2 separate regions of the Homo sapiens genome follow, and region 2 is linked to region 1. Evidence: promoter capture Hi-C in 16 types of primary human blood cells and fetal thymus (Javierre and others, 2016). All regions are on one chromosome and are shown on one strand. Each heading gives the region's core, a stretch centred on a gene start or on the middle of the fragment in contact. The rest is flanking DNA. Distances are from core to core; before and after follow the strand shown.

Region 1 (6,422 bases), core at 2,739-5,238:
TCCTGCTACTGATAACTTTGAGTCTTAATCTAGTTCTCATTAAGATAAACTACTTAGGTACGAATCACAGCTACTTCTTACTAGCCCTGTGACAGTGGAAAGTTTACTTACACATTCATCTGTGCCTCAGTGTCCCCTATCTCATGTTGTCATTGTAAAGTTAAGTATATCAAATTTTAATTTTGCAGTGATCAACAGGATCTCAGAAGAAGTATGTTCTTACTTTGATAACTTACCTGCTTCCTTATTCCATTTGGGCTGCCATAACAAAAATACCAAAAATGGGTTGACTTATAAACAGTAAACATTTACAGACAGTCCCCGACTTATGATGGTTTGACCTATGACATTCCAACTTTACAATGGTGCAAAAGTGATACACATTAATAATAAACCATACTTCAAATTTTGAATTTTGATTCAAAAATTCTTTATAACTTTATTCTGACATAGGCTTTGTGTTACATGACTTTGCCCAATTGTAGCCTAAGTGTTATGACTATGTTTACAGTAGTCTAGGATAAGCTATAAGGCTCAATAGGTTAGGTGTATTAAATGCATTTTTGACTTACAATATTTTTCAACTTACTGATGGGTTTGTTGGGAAATAACCCCATTGTAAGTTGAGGATCATCTGTATTCCTCACAGTTTTGGAGGCCAGAAGTCCAAGATCAAGGCTCAGACAAATTTAGTGTCTGATGATAGCCGGCTTCCTCATAGACAGTACCTCTACACTCACATAGTGGATAGGCAAGGCATTTCCTTTGACCTTGTTTTACAAGAGCACTAATCCCATCATTAGAACTCCATCCCCATGATGTAATCACCTCTCAAAGGCCCCACTTCTTAGTACCATCACTTTGAGGGTTAGGTTTCAACACATGAATTTGAGAGGGACAAACATATTCAGACCATAGCATCTGCTTAAGTAAAAAGAAATTGGTGAGCCAATGGGTTAGAACCCTTTCTTTTCCATCATGGCTTGTGGAGGAGGTAAGCTAATAGGGCAATACGCTCTCTACTGTTGAGGCAGCAGCTTTTGGGATAAAAGGACCACTGAGAAGTGGATTTTATTTTGACAGGCAGATTGGGAAAGATGCCATAGAAGGTCAGGTCTTGGTAGGAAGTTGCTGTGGTTGGCATTGCATACAACTAATGAAGTCAGCATCTTGATACCAATCCTATTCCTCCAGTTCTTTCCTGGATATGAAAAGCCGGGACCTAGACCCTGCTGAGCAGAGGTCTAAAAGACACCATTATCATCTCTTCTGCCATATCTATCCAGAGGGAAGGCATGTCCAGATAGCAGGAATCTTCTTCAGGAGTATAGAAACAAGTGCAGACCATCTAAATGAGAACAAGCAAAGCCAAATTTATTTGGAGCTTACAATAGCAAGGGAGTCAGCCATCATCACTTGCATTTGTCAGAGACTCAACGGCAGGCAGAGGAGTGAGAAAGCTTTAGAGTGGAAAAAAGGGAAAGCTTCAGGTATGCCAATTCAAGGCTGTTGGCATGGAGAAGCTGCAGGTGGGCTAACTAAAAGCAGGGCATCCTATGTAATTATTTAGGGGTGGGTAGATATTTGGCTCTCTCTAGCTGGCCTTGAGTTGGAAGCCCTGACAAAACTTACAGAAGCTGTAAGTTATTAATCACGTCCTGGCCATTTGGGGTAGATTGCTACAAGGGTTATTGCTTGGCTTCCTGGACTGGTTGCTAAATATAGTAATCTGATTTCTTGGACTGGTTACTGGACATAGTAGGTTGCCTTCCTGGACTGGTTGTTGAAGGTTGTAGGTTAGTGTTCTATTTGTATATATTCTCTGGCCATTGTCTATTTGAATTCAGTCTCCCAGGACGGAGGAGTAGGGAGGAAATAAGAAAGGGATAGGGTGGCCAGGTGATTAAGGCAAATAAACTCCTATCAGTACTCCAATAGTCCTGTTGTCAGAGGCGTTTGAACCAGAGTGACTCCAACTTGAACAGGTGCTGGGTAAAACGAGGCTGAGACCTACTGAGCTGCATTCCCAGGAGGTTAGGCATTCTTAGTCACAGAAGATTGGAGGTCCACGCAAGATACAGGTCACAAAGACCCTGCTGATAAACAGGATGTCGTAAAGAAGACAGGCCAAACCCACCAAAACCAAGATGAAGACAAAAGTGACCTCTGGTCATCCTCACTTCTCATTATACGTGAATTATAATGCATTAGCATGCTAAAAGACACTCCCACCAGCACCATGACAGTTTACAAATGCCATGGCAACATCCAGAAGTCATACAGTCTAAAAGAGGGTAGAACCCTAAGTTCCAAAAATTGCCTGCCCCCTTCCTTGAAAACTCATGAATAATCCACCCCTTGTTTAACATATAATTAAGAAATAACTGGCTGGGCGCGGTGGCTCACGCCTGTAATCCCAGCACTTTGGGAGGCCGAGCCAGGAGGATCACCAGGTCAGTAGATTGAGACCATCCTGGCTAACACGGTGAAACCCTGTCTCTACTAAAAATACAATAAATTTCCAGCTACTCGGGAGGCTGAGGCAGGAGAATGGCGTGAACCCGGGAGGCGGAGCTTGCAGTGAGCCGAGATGGCGCCACTGCACTCCAGCCTGGGCGACAGAGCAAGACTCCGTGTCAAAACAAACAAACAACACACAAAAAAACTATATACTCAGTCCAGCAGCCCAAGCCACTGCTCTGCCTATGGAGTAGCCATTCTTTTGTTTCTTTACTTCTTTAATAAACTTGCTTTCACTTCACTATATGGACTCATGATTGGCAACGCTTTCTGGTAACACTGCCCAGGTTTCCTTTGTCAAGCGTGCCTTTCTCAGCCCTACATACCCACAGTTAAATAATCCCTTCTCTCCTGTTTATTTTTCAACTATTGAAAATAGCAAACATCTTAAAACAATTTGTCTTCATGTTTTTCCTCTTAAAAAATTGCAAACGTCTTCTGGGCAGGATTTATGTATTGTTTATCTTATTTATTCTCTTCCTATTGCATCTGGAACACAGTCTGTTTTCAATACCGTTTGTTGAACTCCAGGGTAGATTACAGGGCTGTGTATTATAATCTACAGTACTTTAACTGAAGTTACTCGTTTATTGGTGACTACATTGCTGTCAAAAATACACTCATGTGGCTGGGTGTGGTGGCTCATGCCTGTAATCCCAACACTTTGGGAGGCTGAGGCGGGCGGATCAGGAGGTCAAGAGATCAAGACCATCCTGGCCAACACGGTGAAACCTGGTCTCTACTAAAAATACAAAAATTAGCTGGGCGTGGTGGCGCATGCCTGTAGTCCCAGCTACTTGGGAGGCTGAGGCAGGAGAATCGCTTGAACCTGGGAGGCGGAGGTTGCAGTGAGCCGAGATCGCATCACTGCACTCCAGCCTGGTGACAGCGCCAGACTCCGTCTCAAAAAAAACCCCCCAAAAACAGAAAAACAAAAACAAAAAACCGCAGATGTTATAGAATATAAAATTATAAATGACAAAAAGCTTGAAATAAAACGAGCAGAGCATATAAAAGTTAATGAAGCTGAAGAAAACGTGAGCTTCTCCGTACACTTAACAAGGCTGCGATTTTTACCAACTTTTTTGCACTGTTGTAGCCCCAATAATGTATCTAAAATGGTACTTGACACAGTTTATATCCTTAAGAATGTATGCATGCACGCACGCGTGAAGAATGAATGAATGAGGGGTCGTCCCTTTGCACACACGGAGGTCTACGGGCCGCAGAGTACCTACAGCATGGCCACCGCAAGCGCAACTAAAATCCAGGGCTTGTCGCAGGCACAGGCTCCTCCTTCGGTGGGTGGGACGGCGGCGCGCACTTTCTCTACGCCCCACTGCTAGGATGTGCGGCCACCACTCCTCCTCCGCCGCCGCCGCCGCCGCCGCCGCCGCCGCCGCGTCGAGTGCAAGGGCTTCTGGGAGCCGAGCCTCGGGGTCTCGGAGAAGGGGCGCAGGTGGCCGCCATCTTGGATTGCGAACTGGGTCGCTACGCTTCACGCCAGGGGCGGAGTGGCGGCCCTTCTGTTACCCGCCACACACGTCGCCGCTGGGGACTGGGAAATCAGGGCATCGGAGAGTGCCACATTAATGGGTAAGTTGGAGTGAACACGGGCTAGGTTGGGGGAGCCTCGGTTTTGGTCCCTTTGGGAACTACTAGTTCCTGGGGCCACGGTTTTTATTTACCCCTTACTTTGCGAAGGTCTCTGGAACCTGGCGGTGCCGGGTGTTTCTCGTGTTTTCCCCAGGGCGACAGCGGTCGCGGGGGCGTGGCAGCCGGACCTTTCCCTTGCGGACGCGAAGGCGTGGTGAGTTCAGATTCTTTCAGCAGGTCCTCTGGAGTGATGGGCAGCTGGTCTCATCTTCGCCGCCCCGCCTCACCGTTTCTCGGTAGTTCTTTTCAGTTAATGGAATTGCCAAACGTTGCCACTCATACCTGGTACCCATCAGCTGTGTCCAGCAGCTTATGGAAATTCCACAGTGTCCAAAGAAGAGACAGGTTCCATCCCGAGGGCCTCCTAGCCTCGCCCTCTCCATCCGCCAGCCTCCCTCCTCCACCTGCGTGCAGGTGCCTCTAGTGCTCATTCCCGACGACAAGGCAAGCCTGGGTTCCACGCTTCTAATAGTCGGGCAGCTCCGTTCTAAGATGAAAACTTAGGTTTTCATCGATAATACATAGGAGATGGAAGTATTTGAAAGCTGTGAAATGACAGTGATATGTCTAAAGAATATGACATTGGCGGCGGGCGCGGTGGCTCACGCCTGTAATCCCAGCACTTTGGGAGGCGGAGGCGGGCGGATCACGAGGTCAGGAGATCGAGACCATCCTGGCTAACACGGTGAAACCTCGTCTCTACCAAAAATACAAAAAATACAAAATAAAATACAAAATAATAAATACAAAAAAAATACCAAAAATACAAAAAAAGGAAAAATTAGCCTGGCATGGTGGTGGGCGCCTGTAGTCCCAGCGACTCGGGAGGCTGAAGCAGGAGAACGGTGTGAACCCGGGCGGCGGAGCTTGCAGTGAGCCGAGAGCGCCATTGCACTCCAGCCCGGGCGACAGAGCGAGACTCTGTCTCAAAAAACAAACAAAAGAATATGACACTGGCATTTACTTTTGAGCTTTTTAGACATGTTTTTTAAAAAAGACAAAAACACTAATGATTTATCTCTCAATTACAACACCCAATAATGATGACTCATATTCTGTACAAAAGTGGTTTTCTTGGTAGGTCAGGAGCAACTCTCTCCCTCCGACCTAAGTACTGCTTGTTTGGTTGTGAGGGCTCTCTAGTTGGCACTTCCCCCGCTTTGTGCAGTCTTTTACTTTCACTAATGAGGCGCCCAGCCCCATGGAAATGAAGGCTTTACTGGCATAAGAAATAATGTCGATTGATATTAAAGAAAATCATAAGTTCAGATTCCAGTTATTTGCCCAACTTAAACATGGTTTTTCTAAGAGCCGTTGAAAGCTTATGAATGAAAAAAATTCCTCTATTCTGTAACTTTAAAGTGCTGGAATAACATTTCTAAATAAAAATATTTAATTTTTATGAGACCTCAGCCTTTGAAGTGCAGCCTTTAAATTTATTTTTCAGTGAACGAAACAATCCCATTGGATGGGGCCCCTTTAGAGATAATTTCCCTTGGTTTATTGTCCCCTTTAAAGCAACTGCAGTGAGGATGGATGCAGTGTTAAATCTGAAGCCGGAAGTCAGTACTATTGAAGAAAAAGGAACAAGTGATATCTGAGTTGTTGGTGCTGTATTTTATTTGGCTAAAATTTATGCTGAACAGTTACAATGTGGTTGCTTGGATTAATGGTCTCATAAGTAGCGCCTTTGTATGTGTGCGTGGTGGGGCACAAGGTGATCCAGTCAGATGTGGTAAGAAAATATTAGAACTTCTATTTGTTTACCTTTTAAAACTTTCATTCTTAAAAATTTCTGTTTTTTGTGAATTTTATGCTAGAGTAGTATATTAGAATAGTAATGCATGTATAGAAATAAATATATTGAGGATGAATGCACAAATGTATTTTACGAATGTAGGATGTGTGATTGAAAACGTTTAGAGCCAGTGGCCTAGAATATGCTACATATATAGGTGATAAATACTTTAAGAGTTTTATTTCCATGAGCATTTTATTTTACTTAAATATTTTATATATATTGAGCGTAATTCAACAACTAATACTGTGGTCAGTTTGCACTGTAATGAACTCTGATCTCTAATTTTTTCCTTTCAAGAGTCTAGCTTTTTATAGATATAAAATAGAGAATAATACCAAACATTGTTATTAGTAAAGTTATGTTGAGCGGTTTCCCTCTTTTATTTATTATTTTTTTTTGAGATGGAGTCTCACTCTGTGGCCCAGGCTGGAGTGCAGTGGCATGA
Region 2 (6,422 bases), core at 2,434-4,933, about 38 Mb after region 1:
CAAAATTTGGTATGTAATCTTAGTACAGCATTTTATAATGTTTTCTAGAGGTTCCTGGCTTATAGTCTACATATCTAACTATTGATCTGATAGCTATTGTATATGGTTCTACTGTATGTTTGAAGAAGGGATATGACATAGTGAAAAGAGGAGAAGGTCTTTAAATCCAGAGGCCTGGAACCAATTCCTGGCTATTATAATTAGTAGCTGTGGTGCCCAAGAAAATAGCACTCTCTGAATCTGCTTCTTCATTTATAAAATGAAGATATTGATAATAATTCTAATCCTATAGGTCTTATAAAGATTTTACAAGATTTATTTGTGAAAATCCTCTGAGAACTAAACAACATCCCTTTATATGAGTATGTGTAATATAATATTATATCGTTGAGATAAACAAATACTTTATATCTAATAAACAGAAAAAAATCATAATTTTTATAAGTATGATTTATGTATCCTTCAGCAATTACAACGAAGCTAAAGTGTTTAAATTATATTTCCTGGGAAATATAGATCCCAAGAAATATTGCACTGACATTTCATCTGACCAATGTTAGAGTAAAATTTATCCCCCCCAAAATTAATCATCCATAAAGATGGCAGTAATTACCTTAAATTTTAAGCAAAGATAGACATGTTATAATCATGGCATGTTACTAAAATCCAGGCAAGTTATCATGAAAAGGACCTAGTCTCAGCCTCACTTCACAAATATCTCCCACACTGACCTGTCTTGTGTTCTAAAGTTCCTATCATTCCCTCAAATCATCTCCTGGGACCTTTTTTTGATATGCCAATTCTCTGAGATCAGTAAAACCCAACTAGTACCTATTGGCAAAATATTTTTGCCCAAATATGTATATTATTTGAGTGGCTAAATTTTAGCTGAGAGCCAGGACTAAAGACAAAGAAGAGAATTCGTGAATGTAGATGCTGGGTAAGATTTGGGAAATCTGGGGTCCAGGAGTCCCTAGCAAGCACTTGAGACAAACCAAGAACCAGGGGAATAGGGAGAAAAGGGCGTTGTTAACAGTCATTCCTAGAGTGCTCAGGCCTCCAATGAACAAGATGAAATTACATTAGTTCAAACAAGAAGAGCAGCCTTCAGATGAACAAATGAGAGGAAAGTCCCTGGAGGGCAGCGATGGGATCAGCCAAGGCAGAGAGGAAGTGATGCTCCTTCCATCGCTCCCAGCTGGGTACCAGTGAGTATCCTCCACCCATTCCTTGTGAGCACCCAGTGGGACTGGAGCCCTCCGGCTCCACCTTAGGGCTACTTCCAGGGAAAGCCCCAAAATGTGAGCTTTGTCTCAATTCTGCCCAAGACCAACCCTTGGTCTACACCACGTTCTTATGCCTAGGATGGGATGAGAACAATACCTCAAGCAGAACAGGCACCCAACTCAAAGAAAGGCTTTTTTTTTGTTTGTTTTTAAGTGGGGGAGGGAGCTTAGTTATTGAGTCATTGAGTCAACCCTGTTCTGACAATAATTCTCTTAAAGCAAATTATTAACTGTTAAAACTGTTTTCCCTGACCAGAAACAGACTGCATATTATAGAAATAACAAATTCAGGGAGTTTCAGTTTCACCTAACATACATGAATTTGAAACCTAAATTGGTTTATATGAGACAGTGAAAACAATCTTTGAGAACTTTATTGCATCTAAGATAGATTTTACTCCTCACAACAGGAAGTGGAACCCGTGAACTAGTCCGTTTCAAAATGATCTTGCATGTGGTTTTTCGCTAGGTAAGTAAAAAAAAAAAAAAAGCAAGCAACCAGTTGAGCATTTTATGAGATGGTTTTTCAATAGGGGAAATTATAACTTGCTATCATCATAAATATTCAGAGCCTAGTAAGATATTTTCTCATTCTATTTTCTTCCAGTTTGAATGTTATAGGTAAAACTAAAAAATTATTCTAAAAATCTGATTTTGCCCTAACTTACTTCTAAAGTTGAGGGGAAATTTTTCTTTGAAAATATGTATTTCTTTTTCATTGAAGAAGTGTATTTTTCTTTAACTTTTTAAAAGATGGTTCAAAAACTTCATTTGGCCACGAATCACTCAAAAACACATGGAAATATACAAAAGACCCAGTAGAAAATATACAAAGGAAACTCCTTTGATATTGAATGTTGGGGCTAACGCCCAGGTTACGGGTAACTGTTATATTGACTTATAATCCATATAGTAGTTGTTAAACCTTGCAGGCAAAATTTACCCCAAGATGTATTAAAATTCACAGTAAGATGCTCTGTCATTACATCAGACTTCATAGTGATCCTAATCTTTAGCAAAAACTATACAGTGATATGCTGGTAAAATGGGCTCTCTGGTTGCAGGAGCCCTAACTGGTGGCTTTTGTCAATTTCTGTGGTAGAAACCCTCACATCATTGACAGTTTCAAATTACCAATATTTTAACAACCAAGCCACAGAAATTCCTGACTATTTTAGAGCCATACCAGATCGGCACAGCACTGATAGAGCTGTTAGGGATGTTCTTCCAGAAACCCCTGACATCTCCACAAACGTTTTTTATCCTTCCCAGAAAAATAGACTCAACTTTTTAAAGGAGATTCTAAAGCATCCAATTAATAGACATTTACCTGTGAAAACATGAAAAGCTTGCTTAATTTTTTCAGAAGACTAACCACCTTAAATAATACTTAATACATTAATTGAAATAATCTGTCATAGTAGTGGATAATGAAGAAAGACAATAGACATTCTAACAATAATAACAGAAGCAGTAATAAAAACAATGACAGAGGTTGGATGTGATGACTCACGCCTATGTCAGTGATTTGGGAGGCCGGGGTGGGAGGATGTCTTGAGCCCAGGAGCTCAAAACTGGCCTGGACAACATAACAAGATCCCATCTCTTATTTTAAAAAACCACAATGACAGCTAAAACATATGAATAAAGCTTAATAATCATATCATGCTCGCATGTGCCAGGCGCTGCTCTGAGTCTTTTCAAGATTACTAGCATTGAACTCTCATAGCCACCTTTCTGGCTCAGGTGCTATTATTATATCCACTTTACAGAAGTGGAAATTAAAGCAAACGGAGCTTCAGAATTTTGCCCAAAGTCACCAAAGTAAATGGTAAAGTGAAAATAGGTATTTCAAGAATAAAACTCTGCATAGTAAACTGTTAGGATATTTGTTTGCATTGTTGCTGTTTTGTTAAGAAGTAGGGCAGGGAAGCAAGGACTAGAGATTGTGGCGAAGATGGATACCACGGCACTTTCCACCTAGAAGAGGAAAAGAAGAAATGAAAGGAGGACTGGGAAGAAGGGGAGGAAGGAAGGGAGAGGAGATAAGGAGCTGCAGGAAGGGTGCAAGAGAAGACGGAAGAAGGAGGAAGACAATGTAGAAAGTGGGGAAGAGCAAAGTTCCAGGGAAAATCGTGGAGTTTCTAGCTGAAACAATTGCAATAAATGACTTAGCACCATAGAGAACACAGTTAGAAATGTACATATTGTTTCAGCAGTAAAGATACTGAGTCTGATAAACATGTGAGACATCTAAGTGGAAATACTTGGTATACAGCAGTATATAAGGGATTAGATATTGGGAGGAAAATCTGGAATAAAGACATAAAATGTTGACTTGTCACTGTATAAAGAGTAGAAGTCTCATGTTTTGGTCAGATCACCCAGAGAATGTATAGAATGACAAACGCTCAACATCAGAATCCAAAGGAAAACCAACATGCCCCAGAAAAGCAATAGAAGCCCAGCAAGGGGACTGTGCCATTAACAGCCAAAGAAAAAGTAAAGAGAGGCAGGAGAGAAGGTTGTCGTGGAGCAGAGGGAGGAATACAAGAGAAAGGTAGGTCCAAACCTTCCAGTACTGTCAGTGTGAAAAAACAAAGGACGAGCTCCTCTTGGCCAGGCACGGTGGCTCTCACCTGTAATCCCAGCACTTTGGGAGGCCAGGGTGGGCGGATCACGAGATCAGGAGTTCAAGAACAGCCTGGCCATCACGGTGAAACTCCGTCTCTACTAAAAATACAAAAATTAGCTGGGCGTGGTGGTGGGCACCTGTAATCCCAGCTACTCGGGAGACTGAGGCAGGAGAACTGCTTGAACCCCAGAGACGGAGGCTGCAGTATGCCGAGATCATGCCATTGCACTCTAGCTGGGGTGACAGAGCAAGACTCCATCTCGAAAAACAAAAAAAAAGAAAAGAAAAAACGAAGGATGGATTCACTAGAGATTTGGCAAAACCAGTTTAACTATTGTGTGGGGCTACAAGACCAATCCGAGTGGGTTGAGAGATGAGTGGGAATTGAAGAAATAAAGACAGCATTGCAGACTACTCCTTCAAGAATCTTCACTGAAAAGAGGCGTCATGATAGTAACAGGAAGGCACACTGCCAAAGGACAGAGATTGCCACAGACCTCCCTCAAAACCAAGCTTCTGTGCTTAAACCCTTTTATTGCAGTAAGATACAGATACACACTTAGAAAGCACTTCAACAATACAGTATCAAAGGCTTCAATTATATTCATATTCTAACTCATTGATCATCCATTTCTTTCTGCCTTTTTTCTTTTTGAGATTATTTTTAAGAGAATTAAGTATACTGTTATCTCTCTGTGTACTCCTTCCCTTTTTCATTTCCCTCTCATTCTCCTCACATTACACTAACTTGAATGTGATGTTGATCATTTCCTTGCTTTTTTTGTTGTTGTTGTTGTTTTCTCCTTGTAGAGACAGGGTCTCGCTCTGTTTCCCAGGCTGGTCTCGAAATCATAGGCCCAAGAGATTTATCTTCCTCAGCCTCCCAAAGTGCTGGGATTACAGGCACGAGCCACCACATCCGACCTCCTTTGCACTTTTACTATCTATAAATAATATTTTAACAAAACTAGAAGTAATAACATTAATGCAGACATTTAATTTTCACTATTATGTTTTTGTAATGTTTTCACGTTGATACATGTATCTCTAGTTCATTTTCAATGCTGCATAGTACTGCAGTGAAGAAAAATGCCACAATGTATCTCTACCTATTGATGCACATTGAAATTATTTACAATGTTATGCTATCACAAAAATGTTGCAATTAACAATTTTGTATAACTTCCATTATTCATATATGCAGGTGTCTTTCTGGGCTACCTATGTGTCTGGAAGTGGAATTCCATGATCATAGGATATGTGCATCTTTAATTTTTTAGATATTCCCACGTTTCTTCCAAAGTGTCCTACTTACAGACCCTCCTGCAATATATAAAATTTAGCTTTCTACAACCAGGAATATGTTTTAGTCTCCTATCTCAGAGTTTCAGAAATCTTTCCTACATCTCCTTCTACCTGTTTATTTTTTCTCTTTCATTAATGTCTGCTCTTAACTTATTACCCTTTCTTTAAATTTTTAAAAAAATTACTGTTATTTTTTTTCCAGCTCCTAGAGGTGATGTATATCTTATTTATATTCTTTGCTTTTATTATAATAAAACATTCAGAGCTATACATTTACTGGGAATTTTGCTTTACTTGTATCGCCTTGTTTTTCCATTCTAAATCATTTCTTTAGAATAAGACATTGGAATATGTATTTATAGGTTTCTTAGCATATGGGAAATTTTTACTACTTTTTTTAATTTCTAAATTCATTGCATTTTGTTCAGAACATATGATCTTTATGATACCAATTTCTTGAAATTATTAGCATTTATTTGTGACATTACATAATCAAATTTTGTAAACATTCTATATTAGTCCATTCTCACACTGCTATAAACATACTAACTGAGACTGGGTAATTTATAAACAAAAGAGGTTTAATTGACTCACAGTTCTGCATGGCTGAAGGGGCCTCAGAAAAGTTACGATCATGGTGGAAGGAGAAGGGGTAGAGAGAGACACGTCTTACATGGCAGCAGGAGAAAGAGAGAAGCAGGAAGCACCAGATACTAATCAAACAACCAGATCTTGTGAAAACTCACTCAATATCATGAGAACAGCATGGTGGAAACTGCTCCCATGATCCAATCACCTCCCACCAGGTCCCTCCCTCAACATGCAGAGATTACAATTTGGATTACAATTCCAGATGAGGTGGGGACAGAGTCAAATCATATCACATTCTATGTAAACCTAAATCAAAACTGCTAATTTTGTTTTCCAAATCTTTTATATCTCTCTTTAATTTTTGTTGCTGGAATTACAACTTTGTTAGCATTTCCATCCTTTTATTTTCAAACTTTCTGTGTGGTTGGTTGGTTGGTTTTTGCCATTTCTTTTATAAGGACCATATGACTACATTTTGATTTTTTTTAATATAACATGATTATCTGTGCCTTTTCATAGGTGAGTTTAATCTACTTACATTTAACAACATTTTTATTTTGCGGTTTTGGTTTCATTCACTTCATTTACTTTTATTTTTCCCTTTT

The links. Contacts are between HindIII fragments. The CHiCAGO score rates a contact against its expected background, and 5 or more counts as called.
Region 2: a contact is called between a fragment that was not itself captured here and the fragment with the promoter of KPNA5 in region 1, in 1 of 17 cell types (non-activated CD4 T cells). The highest score is 5.5, in non-activated CD4 T cells.

The regions. Positions count from the first base shown.
Region 1 is chr6:116,677,223-116,683,644 of GRCh38, forward strand. It overlaps KPNA5 (karyopherin subunit alpha 5), which reads left to right and starts at 3,989. Exons shown (of 14, transcript NM_001366306.2): 1 at 3,989-4,116. The coding sequence starts at 4,113. RefSeq lists enhancers at 3,586-4,569, 4,570-5,551. The HindIII fragment of the contact is 1,991 bases long and covers 3,505-5,495 here.
Region 2 is chr6:154,248,492-154,254,913 of GRCh38, forward strand. All of the region lies in intron 3 of IPCEF1 (interaction protein for cytohesin exchange factors 1), which reads right to left. Among named protein-coding and RNA genes, the nearest start is that of IPCEF1, 110 kb to the right of the region's middle. The HindIII fragment of the contact is 1,498 bases long and covers 2,935-4,432 here.